7 separate regions of the Homo sapiens genome follow, and all the other regions are linked to region 5. The links are contacts of gene promoters, found by promoter capture Hi-C in blood cells and fetal thymus (Javierre and others, 2016). All regions are on one chromosome and are shown on one strand. The core of a region is centred on a gene start or on the middle of the fragment in contact, and the rest is flanking DNA. Distances in the headings are between cores, read along the strand shown. Region 1 holds the start of ZNF564 (zinc finger protein 564). Region 2 has its middle 35 kb from the start of ZNF823. Region 3 has its middle 3.3 kb from the start of ZNF491. Region 4 has its middle 15 kb from the start of ZNF709. Region 5 holds the start of ZNF625-ZNF20 (ZNF625-ZNF20 readthrough (NMD candidate)). Region 6 holds the start of LOC124904639 (a long non-coding RNA gene). Region 7 overlaps ZNF564 (zinc finger protein 564).

Region 1 (3,527 bases), core at 718-3,217, 390 kb before region 5:
TAAGTGGATCAGTGTTGGTGAGAAGCAAGTGAATAAACTGCAGTGGGCAGGAGAGCCTGAGACCAGTCTGGAGCCTGCAAAGAGAGGGAAAGGGTGCTTCTTGGGCAGCCTGCCCGCCCTTGCAGGTGGCCTCCAGCTGCTCAGGAGTGCAGATTCTTTTTTTAATTTTAATTTTATTTTTTACTTTTATTATTTTTTTGAGGCAGAGTCTCACTGTTTTGGCACCCAGGCTGGAGTGCAGTGGCGCAGTCTGGGCTTACTGCAACCTCTGCCTCCCGGGTTCAAGCGGTTCTCCTGCCTCAGCCTCCCGAGTGGCTGGGATTACAGGCACGCGCCACCACGCCCGGCTAATTTTTGTATTTTTACTATAGACGAGGTTTCACCATTTGGCCAGGCTGGTCTCGAACTCCTGACCTCAGGTGATCCGCCCGCCTGGGCCTCTCAAAGTGCTGGCGTGAGCCACCGCGCCTGGCCAGGAATGTGGATTCTGAGAAGCTGCAGAGCTGTGAAAAGCAGGAGACCCATGTGCAGATGTGGTTGGGTTGGGGGTGGAGGGTTCTGTCTTTTCTGAGGTTGTACCTTTGGCGCCTGGGGCCATTTCCTGGACAGTGTTTTGGTTTTAGCATTCATGGGGTCGCTGAGTCAGGCTGTAATTTGTATACATGAAGAAAATCTGTGAGGGTCAGACTCAGTGAAAAACTTGTTTGCATTGTCCCCTGGAGAAAAGGTTTGGGAACATGACAATTTATTTAGGTCACGACTTTACATTGACTCCGGGTGAGAGTTTCCTGCTGGTACAAATGAAGGTTTTGAAGGAAAGAGTGTTTCCACACTGTGAGGAGAGGACTGGAGGGCACCTTGAGCTCCCAAAGTTGAATTCTTAAGTGTCCCTGTCTCATCACCAGGTTCTGATCCACACTGGGGTTCCATTTCAGCAGTTAGAGTCTGGGTCCCAAGCTTGGGATTATTTTATTTTATATTTCATTTCTTCATTTCATTATTTCATTTCATTTCATATTTCATTTTTTAGTCTCGCTCTGTCGCCCAGGCTGGAGTGCAATGGCGCTATCTCGGCTCACTGCAACTTCCCCCTCCCAGGTTCAAGCGATTCTCGTACCTCAGCTTCCCGAGTTGCTGGGATTACAGGCACCTGCCACCACGCCTGGCTAATTTTTGTATTTTTAGTAGAGATGGGGTTTCACCATGTTGGTTAGGCTGGTCTTGAACTCCTGACCTTAAGCAATTTTCTCACCTTGGCCTTCCAAAGTTCTGGGATTACAGGCGTGAGCCACCGCGCCCGGCGCTTGGGAATATTTTTAACGTTATGATTGTGGGTTTTCCTTGTGAACTGCGGGTGAAGCAGGCTGCTTGTCTGAGCTAGTTCAAATGTTTGCTTACTTCTCTTGGTTTCTTTATAGATGATCGCTGTCATAAAAACTCCAGTTTTTCCTATACATTTAATACTTTTATTTCTTTGTCCGTTTTAATTTTCTTGCCTGAAAGAAGCAAGCCCTCCTCCCTCCTGTTACACTGTGGTCTGGCCTGGCCTGGGCGCGCCTCCTACTCCGAGGCCAGGGGATGGCTCCACTGGACGCCGAGTCTGTCATTCCCTGTGCACACTTGTGACTCTGTGTCCGGGAGGAAAAGGCAGGAAGGGCACCCTGAGTGCAGAAACACGCCAGTGTCACCTCTGCAGAGCCTGAAACACTTTCTGCTTAAATGCAAATATCCTCCCCGGCACAGAAGGTTACAGAAGGAGGAAGCCCGGCCCGCGAAGGGCAGTGGCCAAGACCCTGTCAATCTGTCTTTACTCAGCCACATACCGCATTGCTTCTCCTGTCACTCAGTACCAAGGGGGCAGGACTTGAATCATCACCCAATCAGGGGCACTGGGGCGGGAACCTGCAAACCATCCAATCAGGAACTCTGCAAGGGGGACAGGGGCAATGTTCAACAACTCCGCGGGGTCTTCCTGTTTCGTGTCCGCTGCGTTTGGGTTCCGGTCTCCGCTTCTCCAGTGGCCCCGGTGGCTCCACCGCAGCGTCTGGCGCGCTGGGACCTGCACAGGCCGGAGAGAGCCGTAGGCAGGACCCCGGGACACCCTGGAAGCCAGGAAATGGTGCGTGTGCGGGGCCGGGCGCCTGGAGACTGGGGGAGGGGCTTGTGGGAACCGGCCGGAACCGGCTGTGGAAGCACCCTGGCCTCCCTGCAGCGACTCCAGGGTCTGGGACCCGAGTTCCCTGGCGCAGCTCGGCCCTCTGTCCCCTCGGCCGCAGGGTGGGTTGGGCCGTAGCCAGTACCCCAGGCGTCCTGTCCCGTCCCTGCGCGGCGACTGCGGCCTCGGCCTCGGAGCCCTGTCTGGGCAGCTCCGCGCCCGCAGCCCCGCCTCTCTCCAGATTGTTTGTACTGGGACACGGGAGGGTCATAAGGCGGAATCCCGTCTCGGGTGTGCGGTTCGTGCATGGGAAGAGCTGTGGGCTGTGGCCTTCCCAGTACATCGTCTTTTTTTCCGGGGGACTGGTCTTCCTCCGAGTCTTCCAAACGTACTGGAAAAAGAATCTCAAACCTACGACTCCCGTTTTTTTTAGCCTAGCTTTTTCTGGGGCTGGAAATAAATGCCTAAATTTCCGGTTCCTTCCCCGCATTCCCAAAGGTGACCTCCCCTCGCCAAATCAACATTATCAGCTGTTTTTTGTTTGACATTTAAGACACAGTATTTTAGTTGTTTATAGTTTCTTTCACCATACTCTTTTGAAAGGATTTGTTTTCTGTTTGTTGTTTTTTTTTTCTTTTCAGACAGAGTTTCGCTCTGTCGCCCAGGCTGGAGTGCAGTGGGAAGATCTCAGCTCACTGCAACCTTCGCCTTCCGGGTTCAAGCAATTCTCCTGCCTCAGCCTCCTGAGTAACTGGGATTACAGGCATGCGCCGCCACGACCGGCTACTTTTTGTATTTTTGGTAGAAACTGGGTTTCTCCATGTTGGCCAGGTTGGTCTCAAACTCCAGACCTCAGGTGATCCGCTCACCTCCGCCTCCCAAAATGCTGGTATTACAGACGTGAGCCACCGCGCCCGGCCTCTTGTTTGTGTACTTGTAACCTGAGAGGGAAACGGAGAATAAGAACCTGACACTCTACGGTAAAATTTTTTTTTTTTTTTGAGACAGAGTTTCGCTCTTATTGCCCAGGCTGGAGTGCAATGGCGCGATCTCAGCTCACTGCAACCTCCACCTCCTGGGTTCAAGCGATTCTCCTGCCTCAGCCTCCCGTGTAACTGGGATTACAGGCATGCGCCACCATGCCCGGCTAATTTTGTATTTTTAGTAGAGACAGGGTTTCTCCATGTTGGCCAGGCTGGTCTCGAACTCCCGACCTCAGGTGATCCGCCTGCCTCGGCCTCCCAAAGTGCTGGGATTACAGGCGTGAGCCACCGCGCCCGGCCGTGGTAAAAAAATTTTTGTGCTTCCCCTCCTTTTATCTTTCCTAAGCCCCGACGCCTAATCAGAATGTCTTTGGGTGGAGTTTCCCCTT
Region 2 (3,597 bases), core at 911-3,410, 450 kb after region 5:
TAAGCCCTATCATTCCTGAAAGACATAGGATAAGTCTCCTTAATATGGACTGAACAGTGAACAGTAGCCACTTTGGGAGGGAGATGAATAGCCTGTAATAGTGCATGTATTACATGTCCATTGGTAATAGATGATAGGTAATAAGTAACCAGAACAAGTTGTAAATCCTCCAGGTTTTGAGACTGTGTCCACTGCATGAAAGACTCCCAAAGCGTATCTGGTATCCGTGTAAATTGTAGCCGTTTTCTTTTTCTTTTTTCTTTTTGAGGTGGAATCTGGCTGTGTGGTTCAAACTGGCCTCAAACTCCTGGCCTCAAGAATCCCCTTGCCTCAGCCTCCTGAGTAGCTGAGATTGTGGGTGTGGAAGCTTACTCTCTGTGTCAGTTTTCTTGTTTGCCAATGTGCAAGCTTTCCTAAGAGCTATGAGTTCAGTCCTTGGGCTGATTTTACAGTGAGTGAAGACAGTGCCCCGAGCGTTTCATGTGGAGCAACCATGGCATGACCCATTATTATGTTCTTCAGAAAATTTCTTTTACAGGATGTATCCTAAAATAGAAGTACATCTAGGTTGTCTAAGGGATGCTCTTGCGGCTTTAGAACCATTTCTATGCCTGCATGACTATCATGTGGGACGGAATGGGATGCTTCAGCATCAGGGTGGGTAGTAAAGTAACCAGACTTACTGGCAAATTGTCAGCTATATAGACCAGCAGGGCAGAATTGAGAGTCCCTTAGCTATGGTTTAAATATTTGTGTACTCTCTAAAATTTATAAGTCAGAACTTAATTCCCACTGCAACACTATTGGGAGGAGGGGCCTTTTGGTGATTAGATCATGAGGACTCTGCCCTCGTGAATAGATTAATGGCATTATACAGGGTTTGATGAATGCAATTTGCCCTCTCTTGCCCTCCTGTCTTCCACCCTGTGAGAATGCAGCAATGCTGAAGCCAGATGCCAGTGTCTTCTTGGATTTCTAAGCCTTCTGAACTGTGAGAAAGTCAATTTCTATTCTTTATAAATTACCCAGTCTGTGGTATTCCACGATAGCAGCACAAATGGACTAAGACACTCTTTGTTTATGGCTCATTGATTTTCAACAAATGGGCCAAGATGCTTTCATAGGGAATGGGTTTTCAACAATGTGCTGGGAAAATGGGATATTGACCTGCAGAAAGATGAACTGAGAACCTTTCTCACATTATACACTAAAATTAACTCACATTGCCAGGCGCTGCGGCTCACGCCTGTAATCCCAGCACTTGGGGAAGCCGAAGTGAGCAGATCCCTTGAGGCCAGGAGTTCCAGACCAGCCTGGCCAACACAGTGAAACCCTGTCTCTACTAAAAATAGAAATAAATTAGCCGGGTGTGGTGACGCATGCCTGTAATCCCAGCTACTTGGGAGGCTGAGGCAGGAGAATTGCATGCCTGTAATCCCAGCTACTTTGGAGGTATGAGAATCACTTGAACCTAGGAGGCAGAGGTTGCAGTGAGCCGAGATCGTACCACTGCACTCCAGCCTGGACGACAGAGCAACACTGTGTCTCAAAATGAATAAATAGATAAAGTAATTCCTGATAAGAAAGGACTTGGTTTTGTCATTTTCCTATTTGTTTTCAATATGCCTTGTAGCTTTTTTCTTCTCATTTCATGCATTTCTGCATTATTTTGCTTTTAATTGCTTTTTGTAGTGAAACATTTAAATTTCTTTATTGTTTCCTTTTGTGTATACACTACTGCTCTGTTAATTACCATGGGGATTGCGTTTACCATCCTAAGGCCATAACATTCTAAATTTATGCCAATTTAACATAAATAGCATGCAAATACAATGCTCCATGGCATGCCTGTTCACACCCCTTTCAGTTTGGTGTCATAAATTTACATCTTTATACTTTATGTATTCAAAAACGCAAACATATTTTCGGTGCATTCGTTTCTTTCTTTCTTTTTTTTTTTTTTTGAGACGGAGTCTCTCTCTGTCTCCAGGCTGCAGTGCAGTGGTGCAATCTCGGCTCACTGCAACCTCCGCCTCCTGGGTTCAAGTGATTCTACTGCCTCAGCCTCCCAAGTAACTGAGATTACAGGCGTGCGCCACCACGCCCAACTAATTTTTGTATTTCTTTTTTTAGTAGAGATGGGATTTCTCCATGTTGGTAAGGATGGACTCAATCTCTTGACCTCGTGATCTGCCTGCCTCAGCCTCCCAAAGTGTTGGGATTGCAGGCGTGAGCCACCACGCCCAACCTAGTTTCTTTTTTATTAGTCTCTTAAACTGTGTAAAAAAACAAAATATAGAGTTCAAAAGCCAAGTCTAAAATGCTAGCTTTTAGACTAATAATTTTTAATGGATTTGTATCTTCAATTATGTAAAGACAAAAACTGGAGTTCACAATTATTGTACAATAATATTAGCATTTATAATTGTCCATGCATTTGTTTCTACTGAGATCTTTATTTGGGCTTACGCCTTCCAGATATTGTCCAGTGTTCTATTTCAACCTGTAGAAGGCTTTTGCGTTTCTCACAGGGTACATCTAATGGCAAAAACAAAAAGAACAAAACTACCTCAGTTTTTGTTCATGTGAGCATGCCTTAATTTCCTCCTCACTTTTGAAAGACAATGTTGCCAGATATTGGATTCTTGGCTGTCTTTGTTTCTGAGATGGAGTCTTGCCATGTTACCTAGGCTGGCCTTGAACTCTTGGGCCTTAACTGATCCTCCCACTTCAGACTCCGGAATAGCTGGGACTGCAGGGATGTGCCACCGTGGCCATTTTTTTTTAAGTACCTTGAATACATCAGCCCACTACCTCTGGCCTTCAGCGCTTCTGATGAGAAATCTGCTGATGATCTTATGAAAGATCATTTATATGTGATGATTCACTTCTTTCTTGCTGCCTTCAAGGTTCTCCCTTTATGTTTGGCTTTGACAATTTGAGTATAATATGTCTTCATGTCCTTCTCTTTGCATTCATCCTACCTGGAGTTCATTGAGCTTCTTGGATGACAGCATTCATTCATGGCTTTTATCTAATTTGGAATATTTGCAGCTATTATTTCTCCAAATAGTCTCCCCTGACCTTTCTCTGTCTCTTCTCCTTCTGAAACTCCCACAGTGCATATATTGGCCTGCCTGATGCTGTCTCACACGTCTCACCTGACTGCCACACCTATGTCTAGCTTATTACCAGGTCAGGGCTCTGTAGAGAGTGGGTATCTGGCTATCTTGGTAGAGATTAACTTGGCAGAGGTAGAACCATAAGGGCATCTGCCAGTATAATCAAGTTTCCTGTGAAGGACATTTGGTTATGGGTTAACACTTAAATATTAGACCCCATGAAAGTCACACTGTAAATATCCACAACCAAGTGTCCTGGAGCCCCGTCAATGCAGCACTAAAGTTCTTTTTGTTTGTTTTTGTTTTTGCTTTTTTTGAGACAGAGTCTCACTCAGTGGCCCAGGCTGGTGTGCAGTGGTGCAATCTCGGCTCACTGCAAGCTCTGCCTCCCGGGTTCACGCCATTCTCCTGCCTCAGCTTCCTGAGTAGCTGGGACTACAGGCGCCCGCCACCATGCCTGGCTAATTTTTTGTAT
Region 3 (3,848 bases), core at 405-2,904, 360 kb after region 5:
TGATAACAGAATCAATTCAGCAAGATAATATAGTAATACTAAATATATATGCATCCAACATTGGAGAGGCCAAATTAATAAAGCAAATATTTCTAGACCTAAAGAAAGATATAGATAGCAATACAATAATAGTATGGGACTTCAGCACCTCACACACAGTAGTAGATATATCATCAAGACAGACAATCAACAAAAAAATTGGACTTAAGTTGGACTTTGGACCAAATGGAGCTAACAGACGTTTACAGAACCCAACAACTGCAGAATATACATTCTTCTCATCAGTACGTGAAACATTCTCCAAGGTAGACCATATGTTAGGCCACAAAACTAGTCTCGACAAATTTTAAAGTCAAAATCATTTCAAGCATCTTCTCAGACTGCTGAATAAAACTAAAAATCAATACCAAGAGGAACTTTGAAAACTGTATAAATACATGGAAATTAAACAATGTGCTCCTGAATGATCTCTGAGTCAAAGAAGAAATAAAAACAGAAAATAAAAATTTTGTTTGAAATGAACAAAAATGGCAACACAACATATCAAAACCTCTGGGATATAGGAAAAGTCATGCTAAGAGGGAAGTTTATAGAATTATATGCCTCTGTCAAAAAAGTAACAAATTAACAACCTAACATGGTACCCCATGGAACTAGGAAAACAAGAACAAAACAAATCCAAAGTTGGCAGAAAAGAAATAACAAAGATCAGAGCAGAATTAAACAAAATCAAGACTAAAAAACAACACAAATGATAAACGAAACAAAAAGTTGGTTCTTTGAAAATATCAACAAAAGTAATAAACTGCTGGCTAGACTAACCAAGAAAAAAAAGAAGATTCAAATGAACAAAACCAGAATTGAAAAAGAAGACATTACACCAATACCACAGAAATACCATCAGAGACTACTATGAACAACTATATGCTCACAACCTAGAAAACCTATAGGTTTTTTTGAAACGTATAACCTCCCAGGATTGAACCAAGAAGAAACAGATATCCTGAATAGACCAATAATAAGTAGCAATATTGAATCAGCAATAAAAAAATTCCCAAAAATGAAAGCTCTGGGCCAGACAGATTTATACCAAAATTGTACCAAATAGGCCAGATGTGGTGGCTCATGCCTGTAATCATAGCACTGTGGAGCCTGAGACAGGAGGATTGCTTGAGGCCAGGAGTTTGAGACCACCCTGGCCAACATAACAAGATCCCATCTCTAAGTAAAAAAATAAAAATTTAAAAATCAACATTAAAAAAATTATACCAAACATACAAAAAGAACTATACTAATAATCCTGAAACTGTCCCTAAAAATCACAGACAAGGGAAATCTCCCTAACTCATTCTATGAGGCCAGTAACATCCTAATACCAAAAACAGACAAGGACACAACAACAAAACTACAGACCAATATCCCCGATGAACACGGATGTGAAAATCCCCAACAAAACACTAGCAAACTGAATCCAACCGCACATTAAAAAGATAATACAGCATGATAAAGTAGGTTTTATACCAGGAATGCAAAAATGGTCCAACACACACAAGTTAATATATGTAACACATCACAAAAACAGAATGAAGAATAAAAACCATATGATCATCTCAATAGATTTAGAAAACACACTTGATAAAATTCAGCATCCTTCATGATAAAAGCTCAAAAAACTAGGTACAGAATGAACATATCTCAAAATAATAAAAGCCACACATGATAAACACACAGCCAACATCATACTGAATGGGGAAATAGTTGAATGATAAAAACTAGAACAAGATTAAGGATGCCTACTTTCACCACTCTTATTCAACCCTAGTATAGGAAGTCTTGGCCAGAGCAATCAGGCAAGAGAAAGAAATAAAAGACATGCAAATTGGAAAAGAGGAAGTCAAATTATTCCTGTTCAGTGATATATAATCTTACATCTAGAAACGCTTAAGACTCCACCAAAAATCTCTTAGATTAGTTAAATTAATTCAGGAGTTTCAGGATACAAAGTCAGTGTACAAAAGTCAGCAGTGTTTCTATACAGCAACAACAATCTAGCTGAGAACCAAATCGAGAAAGCAATACCACTTACGAGAGCTACCAAATAACACCCCACCCCACATGGGAATATATTGCACCAAGGAGGTGAAAGGCCTCTACAAAAAGAAAAAATCTATAAAACACTGATTAAAGAATTACAGATGACACAAACAAATGGAAAAAACATTTCATGCTTATGGAAAGAACTAATATCAGAAGAATTAATTTCATTAATTATTCAGAAAGAATTAATATCATTAAAATGACTATACTTCCCAAAGCAATCTACAGAGTCAATGCAATTCTTATCAAAATACCAATGTTAGTTTTCACATAATTAGGAAAAACAATCCTAAAATTCATATAGAACCAAAAAAGTGCCCGAATAACCAAAGCAATCCTAAACAAAAAGAACAAAGTTGGAGGCAATGTTACAGGACAGGGGTCCCAATCCAGACCCCAAGAGAGGGTTTTCGAATTTCCTGCAAGAAAGAGTTCAAGGCAAGTCTGCAGTGCAAAGTAAAAGCAAGTTTATTAAGAAAGTAAAGTGGTGAAAGAACAGCTACTCCCCAGAAAGAGTTGGATGTTTCTGTAAGTAAGAGGAGGAACGCATCCACCCTAGGTACAATGATGCTTGTATATATGGGCAGATGTGCTCTGCTATAAGGGTCCATGATAAAGGATTAATTTTCTTAATTACTATATTTTGCAAGAATTGATATTATTATCTTTAAAGCAAAATTAGAAATGCCTTTGTTCTCCAGATATTGGGATATCTGGACACTACCAAGTCTGGGTCTTGGTAAACATTATTAATTTGTTCCTTTAACTGTAAACACCTAGAAGCGAGGTATGCCTAACTTTCTGGGAATGAAGCCCAGCAATTCCCAGCCTCACTTTCCTAGCCCTCAGAATGGAGTCGCTCTGGTTCGAATGCCTCTGACAGCAACACATTACCTAACTTCAAGTTATACTACAAGGCTATTGCAATCAAATCAGCATGTTACTGGTATAAAAATATACACAGAAATAAATGAAACAGAATAGAGAACCTAGAACAAAATCCACATATTTACATCCAACTGGTTTTTTACAAAGTCAACAAGAACATACATTGGGGTAAGGACACCCTTTTCAATAAACAGTGCTGGGAACACTGGATTGCCATACGGAGAAGAATGAAGCTGGACCCTGATCTCTCTCCATATACAAAAATCAATTCAAAATGTACTTAAATGTAAATCCCAAAACTATAAAAATACTAGAAGGAAATCTAAGGAATTCTCTTCTGGACATTGGTCTAGGCAAAAAATGCCGGATTAAGACCTCAAAAGCACAGGCAACAATAACAAAATAGACAAATGTGACTTAAGTAAATGGAAAAGCTTCTGCACAGCAAAATAAATAATCAATAAAGTGAACAAATAACCCGAAGAATGGGAGAAATTAATTGCAAACTATATATTAACAAAACACTAATATCCAGAATATACAAGGAACTCAAACAACTCAACAACAACAAAAACAACCCCATTAAGAAGTGGTAAAGGCTGGACATGGTGGCTCACATCTGTAATCCCAGCACTTTGAGACGCCGAGGTAGGCGGATCACCTGAGGTCAGGAGTTTGAGACCAGTCTGGCCAACATGGTGAAACCCCATCTCTACCTAAAATACAAAAATCAGCCGGGTGTGGTGGCAGGTGCCTGTAATCCCAGCTACTCAAGAGGCTGAGGCAGGAGAATCACTTGAACCTGGGAGGTAGAGGTTGCAGTGAGCTGAGATCATGCCACTGCACTCCAGCCTGGGTGAGAG
Region 4 (3,908 bases), core at 925-3,424, 340 kb before region 5:
TAGGTGGGACTCTCCAGCAAGGCCCAAGGAGGGAACGCCTCAGCTTTCTCAGCTTGTCCAGGTATTGTAAACAAAAAATAAAATCCAAAGCACCCTCCTGACTGAACAGACCCCTTCTTGGCCAAGGGAACCCCATAACAACCCTAAACACTGAATTCCCAGGCCAGGCGCAGTGGCTCACACCTGTAATCCCAGCATTTTGGGACTGAGGATGGCTTGAGGCCAGGAGTTTGAGAACAGCCTGGGCAACACAGTGAGACCCCATCTCCACAAAGAAAGTAAAAATTAACTGGGCATGGTGGCATGCACCTGTAGTCCCAGCTACTCAGGAGGCTGAGGTAGGAGGATAGCTTGAGCCCAGGAGTTCAAGGCTGCAATAAGCTATAATATGACTGTGCCACTGCACTCCAGCCTGGTTAACAGAGTGAGACCCTGTCTTGAAAGAACAAAAACAATAAAAACTGAATTCCCAGCCATGGGAAGGGAGGTCGGACACACCCTGTTATAACCCCTCCCTTTTGGAGTTTAGGCACAACTGACCAGCATTAATGTTAAAATAGAGACCATAAAACTAACAAAACTCTTTATGACAATAAGATACCAAATTATAAATAAGACCTAAGGCCATGCTCTCCAAGGGTTAAGTCACAAACTCTAGGTCATTCCGACCCAGTGTATTGGTTAACAGATTTTCTTATCTTTTTTTTTTTTTTTTTGAGACAGGGTCTCTTGCTTTGTCACCCAGGCTGGAGTACAGTGACATAATCACTGCTCACCACAGCTTGGACCTCCCAGGCTCAAGTGATCCATGTAGTGGGGAATATAGGCATATGCTGCCACACCCAGCTAATCGTTTTTACTTTTTTTTTTTTTTTTTTTTTTTGAGATGGAGTCTCACTCTGTCGCCCAGGCTAGAGTGCAGTGGTGCAGTCTTGGCTCACTGCAAGCTCCACCTCCCAGGTTTACGCCATTCTCCTGCCTCAGCCTCCTGCGTAGCTGGGACTACAGGCGCCCGCCACCACGTCCAGCTAATTTTTTGTATTTTTAGTAGAGACGGGGTTTCACCGTGTTAGCCAGGATGGTCTCGATCTCCTGACCTCATGATCCGCCCTCCTCGGCCTCCCAACGTGCTGGGATTACAGGCGTGAGCTGCTGCGCCCGACCTCATTTTTACTTTTTTTTTTAGATGGAGTCTCGTTCTGTCACCCAGGCTGGAGTGCAGTGGCGCAATCTCAGCTTACTGCAACCTCCACCTCCCGGGCTCAAGGGATTCTTCTGCCTCAGCCTCCCAAATAGTTGGGACCACAGGCACACACACCACACCTAGCTAATTTTTGTATTTTTAGTAGAGACAGGGTTTCACCATGTTGGCCAGGATGGTCTTGAACTCCTGGCCTCAAGTAATCCACCTGCCTTGGGCTCCCAGAGTGTTGGGATTACAGGCATAAGCCACTGTCCCCAGCCTAATGCAATCTGTGTGCCACAGCCTCCCAAAGTGCTGGGATTATAGGCTCCTGAGCCCAGCTGTCTTCCTTAAACATTCCTTTTTTTTTTTTGAGACAAAGTTTCGCTCTTATTGCCCAGGCTGGAGTGCGATGGCATGATCTCACCACAACCTCCGCCTCCCAGGTTCAAGTGATTCTCCTGCCTCAGCTTCCCGAGTAGCTGGGATTACAGGCGCCACCACCACGCTTGGCTAATTTTATATTTTTAGTAGAGACAGGGTTTCTCCATGTTGGCCAGGCTGGTCTCGAACTCCTGACCTCAGGTGATCCACCCGCCTCGGCCTCCCATAGTGCTGCGATTACAGGCATAAGCCACCGCGCCCGGCCCAAACATTCATTCTTATCTAATGACTCCAAATGTTTACTCCTTTAGCCAACTGTAAATCAAAGAACCTCTGAGTCTACCTATAACCTGTAAGCCCCCGCTTCAAGATATTCTACCTTTTCAGGCCAAATCAATGCCTACCTTCCATGTACTGATTTATGTCTGCCTGCAACTCCTGTCTTTCTAAAATGCATAAAACCAAACTGTAGCTGGGTGCTGTGGCTCGTGCCTGTAATCCCAGCACTTTGGAAGGCTGAGGCCAGCAGATCACTTGAGGCCAGGAGTTCAAGACCAGCCTGGCCAACAGGGCAAAACCCCATCTCTACTAAAAATACAAAAAATTTAGCCAGGCATGGTGACGCAGGCCTGTAATCCCAGCTACTTAGGAGGCTGAGGCACAACAATTGCTTGAACCTGGGAGGCTGAGGTTGCAGTGAGCTGAGATTGTGCCACTGCACTCCAGCCTGGGCGACAGAGTGAGACCCTGTCTCAAAAATACCAAATAACTGTAACCTGGCTGCCACTGGTGCACTTTCTCAGGACTTCTTGAGACTGCGTTTTCTGGGCCGTGGTCACTCATACTGACTCAGAATAAAGCCTTAAAATATTTGAGAGTTTGGTGATTCCATTGACAGTGGGCAGCTGTTAGAAAGAAGAGGGGGGTTGACACTGAATCTGCCAACAGTCAAATACCAGAAAGGGTGGAGTCCAACTACTCATTACAAGAGCAAACATGGATAAGAAAAACATGCATTTGCAATTGCTTGTTTTTGTTGTTGTTGTTGTGTGAGACGGAGTTTCACTCTTGTTGCCCAGGCTGGAGTGCAATAGCGTAATCTCAGCTTACCACAACCTCAGTCTCCTGGGTTCTAGTGATTCTCCTGCCTCAGCCTCCCGAGTAGCTGGGACTACAGGCGCCCGCCTCCTGAGTAGCTGGGACTACAGGCACCCGCCACCACGCTCAGCTAATTTTGTATTTTTAGTAGAGACAAGGGTTCTCCATGTTGGTCAGGCTGGTCTCGAACTCCAGACCTCAGGTAATCCGCCTGCCTCGGCCTCCCAAAGTGCTGGGAATACAGGTGTGAGCCACCGCGCCTGGCCTGCAATTGCTTGTTTTAATAAAGAAACACTAATAGGATGCACAAGGAATTACCAAAAGTTTTTACGAAGGGCGGGGTGGCTGGAGCAAGAATCCTGGAATGAACCAGGATATGCTTGACAGTGAGTCTTATGTTAGATTTTCCTGTCTCATAGATTTTTTTTTTTAACCTTCACATGTATTATCTCTCTAAAATGAATGGAGGCCTGGTGCAGTGGCTCACACTTGTAATCCCAGCACTTTGGGAGGCCGAGCTAGGAGGATCACTTGAACTCAAGAGTTCAAGACCAGCCCGGGCAACCCTGCCGGTTGGTGAAACCCTGCCTCTACAAAAAATACAAAAATTAGCCAGGCATGGTGGTATGTGCCTGTAGTTCCAGCTACTCAGGAGGCTGAGTTGGGAGGATCACTTGAGCAGGGGAGGCTGAGGCTGCAGTGAGCTATGATCGATCGTGCCACTGTACTCCATCCTGGGTGACAGAGCAAGACCCTGTCTAAAAATATACATTAAAAAGGCCGGGCACGGTGGCTCACGCCTGTAATCCCAGCACTTTGGGAGGCCGAGGCAGGCAGATCACCTGAGGTCAGGAGTTCGAGACCAGCCTGACCAACATGGAGAAACCCCATCTCTACTAAAAATACAAAAAGATTAGCTGGGCATGGTGGCACATGCCTGTAATCCCAGCTACTCGGGAGGCTGAGGCAGGAGAATCACTTGAACCTGGGAGGTGGAGGTTGCTGTGAGCCAAGATTGTGCCATTGCACTCCAGCCTGGGCAACAAGAGTAAAACTCCGTCTCAAAAAAAATAAAAAATAAAAAAATAAAATGAACGAAGATATTTATCTGCACTATATTTTACTATTAAAGTCTTTAAATAATGTAGTTTTTTTTAAATTTTAAGTTGTCTTCATTAAGATTTAATCCTTTATACACTTTTAAAAGTGTAAACTATACGAAATGTAAAATTTCAAATCTTAA
Region 5 (3,540 bases), core at 926-3,425:
AGTTCAGTGGCACAATCTCAGTTCACTGCAACCTCCATCTCCCGGGTTCAAGCGATTCTCCTGCCTCGGCCTCCTGAGTAGCTGGGATTACAGGCGTGTGCCACCACGCCCGGCTAATTTTTGTATTTTTAGTAGAGACGGGGTTTCACCATGTTGGTCAGGCTGGTCTCGAACTCCTGACTTCGTGATCCGCCCGCCTCGGCCTCCCAAAGTGCTGGGATTACAGGCGTGAGCCACCGCGCCCAGCCGGCAGCAATATTTTATAAAGGAATCAAAAGAAAAGTAAAGCAAACATTTGAAGTAGTTCAGATAAGCAGCCTGCTTCATGCACAGTTCACAAGGAAAACCCTCTGTCAGAAGGTAAATGATATTTCCAAGCTTGGAAGCCAAACTGTGACTGCTGAAATGGAGCCCCCCAGGGCGGGTCAGTCCCAGATGATGAGGCAGAGAAAATTAAGGATTTATCTGGGAGTTTGAAATGCCCTTCTGTCCCCTCCTCAGTTTAGAAATTATTCTCTCCTTTAAGACCTTCATTTTCACCAACAGGAAGCTCTCGACTTGAGTCAGTTTAAGCTAAATTTACTGTTAAATTCATAAACCCGCAGGGCGCGGTGGCTCACGCCTGTAATCCCAGCACTTTGGGAAGCCGAGGCGGACGGATCACGAGGTCAGGAGATCGAGACAATCCTGGCTAACACGGTGAAACCCCGTCTCTACTAAAAATACAAAAAATTAGCCGGGCGTGGTGGCAGGCGCCTGTAGTCCCAGCTACTTGGGAGGTTGAGGCAGGAGAATGGCATGAACCCGGGCGGGAGGCGGAGCTTGCAGTGAGCCGAGATTGCGCCACTGCACTCCAGCCCGGACGACAGAGCGAGACTCCGTCTCAAAAAAAATGATAATAAATACAATAAAATAAAATAATAAATAAAAATTCATAAACCCTTTCTCCAGGAGGCATCCCAAATGGGTCTTGCTCTAATTCTGACCTTCACAGATTTTCTTTTTCTTTTTCTTTCTTTTTTTTTTTTGAGACAGTCTAGCCCTGTCGCCCAGGCTGGAGTGCAGTGGCGCAATCTCGGCTCACTGCAAGCTCCGCCTCCCGGGTTCACGCCATTCTCCTGCCTCAGCCTCCCGAGTAGCTGGGACTATAGGCGCCCGCCACCGCACCCGACTAATTTTTTGTATTTTTAGTAGAGACGGGGCTTCTCCGTGTTAGCCAGGATGGTCTTGATTTCCTGACCTCGTGATCCGCCCGCGTCGGCCTCCCAAAGTGCTGGGATTATAGGCGTGAGCCACCGCTCCCGGCCGTAAAGATTTTTAAATAATAAAAACAGGGGTCTAGGGTGGGGGGATGTGGGAGGGATAACATTAGGAGATATACCTAATGTAAATGACGAGTTAATGGGTACAGCACACCAACATGGCGCATGTATACATATGTAACAAACCTGCACATTGTGCGCATGTACCCTAGAACTTAAAGTTTAATAAATAAAAATTAAAAAAAAAAAACAACAAAACAGGGGTATTCTTGTGTTGACCAAGTTGGTCTTTAACTCTTTACTTTAAGGGATCCTCCAGTCTTGGCCTCCCAAAGTGCTAGGATTACAGGCGTGAACCACCGCACCCTGCCTGTGTTCAGGTCACAATCTCTTCTAGCTTGGATAAAGGGAAAGAAATAAAGGGGGAGAGGGCATGGTTTCATCAATGGAGATTCTCTGCAGATGCAAATTCCCCCCCTCCAAAGACAGCTTTGCCAGTCCACTTTTTTTTGCGGCCGAGCCACAGCCATTTCAAAATCTGTCAAATAAATATATTTTGGCGTAAAATATTTTAATTTCCTTCACCTCCACTGGACTCTGAGTCTGGAATTTCCTGTGCAAGACAAAGGAGCAGGGACAGCCCATTGAGTGAGGAAGACAACGGTACCCCCTCTAGCAATTCGGAGCAAATTTGGCTGAAATGCAAATACCCAAAGAGCAAGACGCAGGGAGGGAGCTCGCTTAGATAATCTGTGGTTGGAACAGGTCATTTCGGTTCTGCCGGGCCTTGTTACCCAGGGCTTCCGCTGTCACTCAGGACCGATGGGACGGGGACTGGAGCCTCATCCAATCAGGGGCGCTGGGGCGGGGTCCTGCCAACTGTCCATCCGGGGAAGGGGAGGCCGCATTCCCGCTTTCCTGACTCCCAGGCGTCTTGCACCAAAGGGAGGTCGGGATCTCGGTTTTCCGGCCCCGAGAGGGACCAGGTGCCTCCGCCATAGCTTCTGTCGCTCCATCGCCCGCACTGTGACTGGACTGTTAGAGGGATCCGTGGAGAGGAGGCCAGGACACCTGGAAGCCGGGAAATGGTGAGTGTGCGGGGCCGGGGGTCCCGAGACGGGGGAGGGGCCGGGAGGAACCGGCTCGAACCGGCTCTAGCAGGACCCAGGCCTTCCTGCAGCGACTTCGGGTCTGCAGAGCGGAGTCCCCCTGGCGTAGCTCGGCCCTCGGTCCCTTCGGCCGCAGGGTGGGGTTGGGCCGGCAGCCGGGACCCCAGGCGTCCTGTCCCGTCTCTGCGCTGCGACTGCGACCCCGGCCCTGGCCCCGGCCCCGGAGCCCTCTCTGGGGAGCTCCGCGCCCGTAGTCCCGCGTCTCCCCAGATTGTGCGGAGACCACGGGAGGGTCATGGAGGCAATCCTGCCTCGGGTGTGTGGTTCGTGTGGGAGGAGCGGTGGGCTGCGGGGTCCCCAGTCCCCCCTTTTTTCCTGAAAAACTAAATTGAAGGCCAGGCGCAGTGGGTCACGCCTGGCAGGTTGAGGCGGGGGGATTGCTTCAGCCCAGAAATTCGAGACCAGCCTAGGCAACATACCGAGACCCTAGTTTCTATTAAAAATAAATTTTTAAAAAATGAGCCGGGCGTGGTGCCGCCCACCTGTAATCCCAGCTACTGGGGGGCTGAGGTGGGAGGATCGCTTGAGGGAGGAGATTGGGACTGCAGTGAGCCGAGATCGCGCCACTGCACTCCAGCCTGGGCGACTGAGCGAGACCCTGTCTCAAACAAAACAAAACAAAAACAACAGCAACAAACTAAACTGAGTCCTCTTAAAAATTAAAGAGTTTTGCTTCTCAGAATAGGAGTTTGAAAAAAATGAATGAGAAATGTTTCCTGAATGAGAAACACCCAGTCATGGCTTGCAGTTTGATAACGGAAAGAGCAAAACTCTGCAAAATAACTTGAACTATGTTCTACGCCGAATATGAGAGAACGTGACCAAGGGAAACAACCGCATGTAGCCTCGAGTAAGTGGTCCCCAGGAGGTTCGATGGCAGTTTGGTTTTATTCATTTCAGCGAGACAGGAATTGCAGGGAAAAGATCAATCAAGGCATGGAAGGCTGACAGGGCAGGACACGTAGAAGCGGGGCTTAGAAGGCACAGGTGGTTGAGGGATTCTGTAGTTGGCAGTTGGCTGAGAGTGTGAAGTTGTGTCTAAAATTTGAAAGGGGTAGGAAGGAATGTTTAAGTGAAGGGAGTCTGTTACCTGCCACGTGATTCCATCC
Region 6 (3,787 bases), core at 570-3,069, 380 kb after region 5:
TACCATATGACATCTGTAAAAAATAAGAAGTACATTAGTAAAGGTTTGTTTATAAATGATTTTGTATTAATAAGTATTGGATTTACATTTCTTTTCTTTCTTTCTTTTCTTTTTTTTTTCTGAGACAGGTTCTCGCTCTGTTGCCCAGGCTGGAGTGTAGTGGTGTGATCTCAGCTCACTGCAACCTCCACCTCCCGGACTCAAACCATCCTCCCACCCCAGCCTCTCAAATAGCTGGGTCTACAGGCATAAGCCACCACACATGGCTGATTTTTTTTTTTTTTTGAGACGGAGTCTCGCTCTGTTGCCCAGGCTGGAGTGCAGTGGCGCAATCTCGGCTCACTGCAAGCTCTACCTCCCCCGGGTTCACACCATTCTCCTGCCTCAGCCTCCCAAGTAGCTGGGACCACAGGCGCCTGCCACCACACCTGGCTAATTTTTTGTATTTTTAGTAGAGACGGGGTTTCACCATGTTAGCCAGGATGGTCTCGATCTCCTGACCTCGTGATCTGCCCACCTCAGCCTCCCAAAATGCTGAGATTAGATTTTTGTATTTTTTATAGAGACGAGGTTTCACCATGTTGCCCAGGCTAGTCTTGAACTCCTGAGCTCAAGCAATCTGCCCACCTTGACCTCTTGTAGTGCTGGGATTACAAGGGTGAGCCACCATACCCAGCCTTTCTTTTTCTTTTTCTTTTTTTTTTTTTTTTTTTGAAACTGGGTTTTGCTCTGTTGCCCAGGCTGGAGTATAGTAATGTGAACAGGGCTTACTGCGGCTTTGACCTCCTGGGCTCAAGCAACCTTCCTGTCTCAGCCTCCCAAGTAACTGAAACCACAAGCACAGGCCACCATGCCTAGCTAATTTTTGTATTTTTTGTAGAAAGGGCGTCTTGCCACGTTGCCCAGGCTGATTGAACACCTGGGCTCAAGCAGTCTTCCTGCCTCAGCTTCCCAAATAGTTGGGATTACAGGTGTGAGCTATCGCACCTGGCCTGGATTTACATTTCTAACATTATCATGCAAAGTGTAGGTCTCATGCCCTCTTTGAACATGAATGGACAGAATGATGTACAAGGTAACTCAACCCCAGCTGTTTTGAAGATAGTGACATTCATATGGGAATTCTTAATACTGTTTCCAAGGGAACTATTTTGCAGGCACTGAATAGCCATAGCCATGTCACATTTAAGTATATGTTTTTGAAGAAAATTTTCTAAGAATAAATAAATTTAAGGTGGGCTTGTTAATTTTCCTTGCTTCTTTTTAAAATTTTGGGCTGGTCACAGTGGCTCATGCCTGCAATACCTGCCTTTTGAGAGGCCAAGGCAGGAGGAACGCTTAAGGACAGGAGCTGGAGATGAGTCTGGTCAAACACAGCAAGACTCTATCTCTACAAAAACTAAATATGTAGCCACATGTGGTGGTGCATGCCTGTAACCCTAGCTACTCAGGAGGTTGAAATGGGAGGACCATTGAGCACAGGAGTCCGAGGCTACAGCGAGCTATGATCATACCACTGTACTCCAGCCTGAGCAACAAAGTGAGACACTGTCTCTAAAACAAACAAAATAAAATAAAATTTCTGGCATACTATGAATCACTTCAAGGACACAGCTTTCTCTTGTGAGTGCAAATTACCTTAGATTTCTTCTGAGATCTTTGTACTGATCTTCTTCTATATCATGATTTTGCCATATCATTCCTAAAAGTTAGAACCAGAAAAATGACTATAAATTATTATAAAATTATAGAAAGACTGTAAGATTTTATGTACACTACAATCATGCATGATTCACACACCAAACTACAGCTGAGTCTTCAACACAGGTTTGAACTGCACAGGTCTACTTACATATGAATTTCTTCAGTCTCTGCTACTCTTGAGACAGCAAGACCAACCCCTCCTCTTATTCAGTCTACTCAATGTAAAGACAATCAGAATGAAAACTTTGTAATGTTGTATTTTCTATGAATACTAAATAATGTTCCACTTACCTATGGTTTCCTAATGAATATTTTCCTTTTCTAGCTTACTTTCCTGTGAGAATATATAGCATGTAATACATATGACATATAATACATGTATTAATCAACTGTTTATGTTACCAGTAATGCTGCCAGTAAACAGTAGGCTACTAGTGGTTAAGTTGTGCGGGAGAAGATGTATGACTGCTTGGGTGGCTGGTTCAAGGGCCAATTATATACCCTTCCATATTTCAAATAATTGAACAGCATTGATGACCAAGAAACAAATGTCTCTAATTGACTAAGTGAAGACATGATGACATCCTTACCTATACAGTCCAGGTTTCTGATGGTTTCCTGCATCACATCTCTGTAGAGACTCTTCTGTGATGGACCCAGCAAAGCCCACTCCTCACAGGTGAAGTTTATAGCCACATCCTCAAATGCCACTGAGTCCTGAAATATTTCACATGTGCAGAGGAGGAATATTAAAACTGAAGGCACTGGGAATGTAAATTCACTTCATAACCTTCACATGATGCTGTGGTTTCCAAGCATTTATTCAAGAACATGGTAAACCCACTCTTATTCTCTCTTTACACTCATTTTATCCCACACAATTCTGATCCTAGAAATGAACATGTTTTGTAAAGTAACAGTTGAATAGGAACACGCCTCTTGTTGGTAAGTTAAGAAAGTGAGTCTTATTGCCTGAATCACTCCTCATTTCTATTTCTACAGTGGGTCTGCAGTTCTTGTCATGACAAAGTCCTACTACCTATTGTGCAAAAGAGAGTTACCAGCAAGAAGGCTCTCACCAGATGCCCAGCCTTGATGCTGGGCTTCCCACCCTCCAGAAGTGTAAAAAATAAATATCATTTCTTATAAATTACCCAGGTTAAAGTATTCTGTTATAAGCAACAAAAAACAGACTAAGCCATGAAAAAAACACTCTGAGGCCAGGCACAGTGGCACACACCTGTAATCCCAGCACTTTGGAAGGCCGCGGCAGGCAGATCACCTGAGGTCAGGAGTTCGAGACCAGCCTGACCAACAGGGAGAAACACTGTCTCTACTAAAAATACAAAAAATTAGCCCGGTATGGTGGTTCATGCTTGTAATCCCAGCTACTCAGGAGGCTGCGGCAGGAGAATTGCTTGAACCCGGGAGGCGAAGGTTGCGGTGAGCCGAGATTGCGCCATTGCACTCCAGCCTGGGCAACAAGAGAGAAACTCCGCCTCAAAAAAAAAAAAAGGGAAAAAACACTCTGGTCACTGTGTCTGTAATGAGTGACCCTTGTGCCTTGGGGGATTTAGCCTGTGCTATGTGACTACACTAAGAGAGAACATTTGGAAGCTAGCAACTGGTTTACTGTAGAACATATGTAGTTAAGTATGACAAAAGACTAATAAGGATATTTTACCATCCCAATGGAAAAATTAAACTTTATTAAGTAATGTCAAAGAAGAAAAGAAGGGCCAAGATTGCATATGTTCTTAGAAAAAAACTCAATGTCATCTCTCATGAATATCTATAATATTTCCCTAAATCCCTAAACAGACCTTTTTGTCATCATTAAAAATTACATGACCAAATCTAATAGAAGTCACAAACATCTAAAAATGCTAAAATCCTTCTAACCAAGAAAGCAACAGCTTTCCAAAAACAGATAAAGTATGGTGAATATATTATATTCAGTACCCTGTACTATTAACACAGAGATAAACAAATAGAATAAGGAAGGTGACAAATAGTAGGAAAGTTTTGTGGAGTTTTTATTTGTCCTTGTCCCAATCCCTCCTCACATCAGCACCAGTCTTGA
Region 7 (3,892 bases), core at 1,058-3,557, 370 kb before region 5:
CCAATAAAACTTGTAGTGACTACAGTAAAAATGTAGAGATCAGTTGCATGTTTTCATGGGGTAATTAAATTTATGAGAAAGTGAATGTAGACGGAATTCTGACAACCATATTTATTTATCATAAAATAAATGTTTGGAGACTGCCACATCGTTTTGTCGACTTTTTTGTTTTGTTTTTTGTTTGTTTGTTTGAGATGGGGTCTCTCTCTGTCAGCCAGGCTGAAGTGCAGTGGCGTGATCTTGGTTCACCGTAACCTCTGCCTCCCTTGTTTAAGCGATTCCCCTGCCTCAGCCTCCTGAGTAGCCGGGATTAACAGGCATACGCCACCACGCCCAGCTAATTCATATATCTGTAGTAGAGATGGGGTTTCACCATGTTGACCGGGCTGGCCTCAAGTTCCTGACCTCAGGTGATCTGTATGCCTTGGCCTCCCAAAGTGCTGGGATTACAGGCATGAGCCACCACACCTAGCCATTTGTGAACTTTTATGAATTGGGTTTACATCCCTGTACTGTCATCTCATTCTTCCTCCTGCATTGCATATTTGGGATGTTTTAGGACTCAGTGGCCTCTGAGGATGTGGCTGTGAACTTCACACTTGAGGAGTGGGCTTTGCTGGATCCTTCCCAGAAGAAACTCTACAGAGATGTGATGCGGGAAACCTTTAGAAACCTGGCCTGTGTAGGTAAGGATGACATCATTCCTTCTTTTAGTCAGTTAGAGAAGAAGTATTTCTTGCTTTTTAATGCTTTTTCATGATGTCTAATGTGGAAAAGGGAATACTTGGGTGAATAAATCAGGGTTGTTTGCACCTTATCATGAACTTAGAATCTAGTCATTTTTCTGTAATGTCTATCAGTTCATAAGGATTTTTTCTGACTATATTTTAGGAAAAAAATGGGAAGACCAGAGCATTGAAGATTGGTACAAAAATCAGGGGAGAATTTTAAGGTAATTTGCACTGACAAGATAAAGCAATGTCTCCTTCTTAGTATGTCATGAAATTTTAAAAATAAGTAAACAAACCAGTAAGCCCAGCTTCAGATTTATTTATTCCTACAACTTTTTCACCAGAAAAAGAAAAAGTGGCATAGATGTTCAGTGTTGCAAAATCATTCACTTGGAAATAGTATTAAGAAACTGTATATATGGATATCACTTTTTTGGTGATAGCTACTGTCAAGCTCTCTTGCAGAGCATTCCATCCATTCACTTTCAAACAATTCATACAGGCCTGAAAACTTACCCTTTCCGCGATTATGGTAAAAATGTAAGTCGAATACCTATTAATAAATATAAAGTCACAAACCACTAAATCTTGCTTTCTATTTTTTCCAGAAATCATATGGAAGAGGGACTCAGTGAAAGTAAAGAATATGATCAATGTGGAGAAGCCTTCAGTCAGATTCTCAATCTTAATCTGAACAAGAAAATTCCTACTATAGTAAGACCATGTGAATGTAGTTTGTGTGGGAAAGTCTTCATGCATCATTCATCCCTTAGTAGGCACATCAGATCTCACCTTGGACACAAACCATATGACTATCAGGAATATGGAGAGAAACCATATAAATGTAAGCAGTGTGGGAAAGCCTTCAGTTCTTGTCAATCCTTTCGAAGACATGAAAGAACTCACACTGGTGAGAAACCCTATGCATGTCCGGAATGTGGGAAAGCCTTCATTTCTCTCCCAAGTGTTCGAAGACACATGATTAAGCACACTGGAGATGGACCATATAAATGTCAGGAATGTGGGAAAGCCTTTGATCGCCCAAGTTTATTTCAGATACATGAAAGAACTCACACTGGAGAGAAACCCTATGAATGTCAGGAATGTGCAAAAGCTTTCATTTCTCTTCCAAGTTTTCAAAGACACATGATTAGGCACACTGGAGATGGACCTTATAAATGTCAGGAATGTGGAAAAGCCTTTGACCGCCCCAGTTTATTTCGAATACATGAAAGAACTCATACTGGAGAGAAACCCCATGAATGTAAACAGTGTGGGAAGGCCTTCATTTCTTTCACAAATTTTCAAAGTCATATGATTAGGCACACTGGGGATGGACCTTATAAATGTAAAGTATGTGGGAGAGCCTTTATTTTTCCCAGTTATGTTCGAAAGCATGAAAGAACTCATACTGGGGAGAAACCCTATGAATGTAATAAATGTGGTAAAACCTTCAGTTCTTCCAGTAATGTTCGAACACATGAAAGGACTCACACTGGAGAGAAGCCCTATGAATGTAAGGAATGCGGGAAAGCCTTCATTTCTCTCCCAAGTGTCCGAAGACACATGATAAAGCACACTGGAGATGGACCTTATAAATGTCAGGTATGTGGTAGAGCCTTTGACTGTCCCAGTTCATTTCAAATACACGAAAGAACTCACACTGGAGAGAAACCCTATGAATGTCAGGTATGTGGGAAAGCCTTCATTTCTCTTAAAAGGATTAGAAAACATATGATACTGCACACTGGAGATGGACCTTATAAATGTCAGGTATGTGGTAAAGCCTTTGACTGTCCTAGTTCTGTCCGAACACATGAAAGAACTCATACTGGAGAAAAACCCTATGAATGTAAAGAATGTGGGAAAGCATTCAATTATGCCAGTTCCATTAGAATACATGAAAGAACTCATACCGGAGAAAAACCCTATGAATGTAAGCAATGTGGAAAAACGTTCAGTTATTCCAGTTCCTTTCAAAGACATGAAAGAGCTCATAATGGAGATAAACCTTACGTAAAGAATGTGGGAAAGCTTTCATTTATCACACAACCTTCGAATACCTGTGAAAATGAATAGTGGAGGACAGGTCTACAAGTATCTACATATCTAAAGAATATGGAAAGTCTTCAGTTTGCTTTCTGGGTTTCAGACTTGTTTGGGAGCTCACCCCTTTCTCCTGTTTCTCACTTTTGGAATAGGAATCTCTATCCTGTGCCTGTCTCATATTTTGGAAATACATGACTAGTTTGGTTTTCACCGGTTCGGAGCTGAAGAAGAATTTTGCCTCAGCATGAATTGAGTCTCATCCATATCTGAGTGATGTGATATTGAGATGACACTTTGGAGTTTGAGTTTAAACATTAGGCTTCATGCTGGAATTAACTGAGACTTTTGAGGCCTTTGGGATGAGATGAATATATTTTACATGTGATGACATGGATTTTGGGGGCCAGAGGTGTAATGTTTTGGCTGAGTGTATGCCACCTCAGATTCATATGTTGAAACCTTACCCCCGTGCCCCCCCTCTCCCCCACAATGTGATGGTATTTGGAGGCCCTGTCTCTGGTGGTTTTTAGGATTGGAGGACATCATGAAGATGGAGGCCTTGTAATTGGGATTAGTTTCCTGATAGGAATCCCTAGAGAGCTAGCTTTGCCCTTCACCATGAGAGGGTGCAGTGAGAAGATAGCTATCTTTGAACCGGGAAGCAGGCCCTTACCAGACATGGACTATGCCAGTGCCTTGATATTGGACTTCCCAGCCTCCCAAACCATGAGAAATAAATGTTTGTTGATTAATTAAGCTTTCCAATTTATGGTATTTTGTTTTAGCAACCCAAGCTAAGACACAATCCAATTTTAAAATGGAGGAAAGGACTTGAATAGACATTTCTCCAAAGAAGATACCCAGATGGCCAATAAGCACGTAACAATGCTCGACATCTTTAGTCATTAGGGAAATACAAATCAAACTCAAGACATACATAGCATCTCATTAGGATTAGTAGTATCAAAGATGGAAAACAAGAAATACTGTCAAGGATGTGGAATGTTGGAGAACATTGTGCACTATCACTGGGAATGTACAGTGGTATAAGCCTGCTGAAAACAGTATGGCAGATCCCCAGATTAAAATATAGAAATAACATATGATCAGCA

Evidence for each region. The method cuts DNA at HindIII sites, captures the fragments that hold promoters and counts their contacts. A CHiCAGO score of 5 or more calls a contact.
Region 1: the fragment with the promoter of ZNF564 here is called in contact with the fragment with the promoter of ZNF625-ZNF20 in region 5 in 3 of 17 cell types (monocytes, neutrophils and erythroblasts); the score reaches 7.0 in monocytes.
Region 2: a fragment that was not itself captured here is called in contact with the fragment with the promoter of ZNF625-ZNF20 in region 5 in 1 of 17 cell types (monocytes); the score reaches 5.1 in monocytes.
Region 3: a contact is called between a fragment that was not itself captured here and the fragment with the promoter of ZNF625-ZNF20 in region 5, in 10 of 17 cell types (monocytes, non-activated CD4 T cells, erythroblasts and 7 more). The highest score is 11.8, in monocytes.
Region 4: a contact is called between a fragment that was not itself captured here and the fragment with the promoter of ZNF625-ZNF20 in region 5, in 1 of 17 cell types (erythroblasts). The highest score is 5.8, in erythroblasts.
Region 6: a contact is called between a fragment that was not itself captured here and the fragment with the promoter of ZNF625-ZNF20 in region 5, in 4 of 17 cell types (fetal thymus, total B cells, total CD8 T cells and 1 more). The highest score is 6.7, in fetal thymus.
Region 7: a contact is called between a fragment that was not itself captured here and the fragment with the promoter of ZNF625-ZNF20 in region 5, in 5 of 17 cell types (erythroblasts, M0 macrophages, total CD4 T cells and 2 more). The highest score is 10.7, in erythroblasts.

The regions. Positions count from the first base shown.
Region 1 is chr19:12,549,922-12,553,448 of GRCh38, reverse strand. It overlaps ZNF564 (zinc finger protein 564), which reads left to right and starts at 1,967. Exons shown (of 4, transcript NM_144976.4): 1 at 1,967-2,119. The coding sequence starts at 2,117. It overlaps LINC02926 (long intergenic non-protein coding RNA 2926), which reads right to left and starts at 1,723. Exons shown (of 2, transcript NR_187485.1): 1 at 580-1,723; 2 at 1-74. RefSeq lists enhancers at 1-414, 415-916, 1,700-1,994, 2,060-2,169, 2,828-3,330 and a silencer at 2,400-2,479. The HindIII fragment of the contact is 25,081 bases long and covers 960-3,527 here.
Region 2 is chr19:11,702,221-11,705,817 of GRCh38, reverse strand. No RefSeq gene overlaps it. Among named protein-coding and RNA genes, the nearest start is that of ZNF823, 35 kb to the left of the region's middle. The HindIII fragment of the contact is 3,499 bases long and covers 411-3,597 here.
Region 3 is chr19:11,793,299-11,797,146 of GRCh38, reverse strand. No RefSeq gene overlaps it. Among named protein-coding and RNA genes, the nearest start is that of ZNF491, 3.3 kb to the left of the region's middle. The HindIII fragment of the contact is 3,535 bases long and covers 1-3,421 here.
Region 4 is chr19:12,498,191-12,502,098 of GRCh38, reverse strand. No RefSeq gene overlaps it. Among named protein-coding and RNA genes, the nearest start is that of ZNF709, 15 kb to the right of the region's middle. The HindIII fragment of the contact is 4,354 bases long and covers 1-3,908 here.
Region 5 is chr19:12,155,366-12,158,905 of GRCh38, reverse strand. It overlaps ZNF625-ZNF20 (ZNF625-ZNF20 readthrough (NMD candidate)), which reads left to right and starts at 2,175. Exons shown (of 8, transcript NR_037802.1): 1 at 2,175-2,350. ZNF625 (zinc finger protein 625) reads left to right here and starts at 2,172. Exons shown (of 4, transcript NM_145233.4): 1 at 2,172-2,350. The coding sequence starts at 2,348. RefSeq lists enhancers at 2,146-2,255, 1,818-2,509 and a silencer at 2,486-2,655. The HindIII fragment of the contact is 6,672 bases long and covers 381-3,540 here.
Region 6 is chr19:11,776,245-11,780,031 of GRCh38, reverse strand. ZNF441 (zinc finger protein 441) reads right to left here. Exons shown (of 4, transcript NM_152355.3): 2 at 2,295-2,421; 3 at 1,639-1,702; 4 at 1-13. LOC124904639 (a long non-coding RNA gene) reads left to right here and starts at 2,395. Exons shown (of 2, transcript XR_007067141.1): 1 at 2,395-2,538; 2 at 2,707-2,857. The HindIII fragment of the contact is 4,273 bases long and covers 1-3,787 here.
Region 7 is chr19:12,525,364-12,529,255 of GRCh38, reverse strand. ZNF564 (zinc finger protein 564) reads left to right here. Exons shown (of 4, transcript NM_144976.4): 2 at 560-686; 3 at 892-952; 4 at 1,340-3,883. The coding sequence ends at 2,810. Among named protein-coding and RNA genes, the nearest start is that of ZNF564, 24 kb to the left of the region's middle. The HindIII fragment of the contact is 920 bases long and covers 1,848-2,767 here.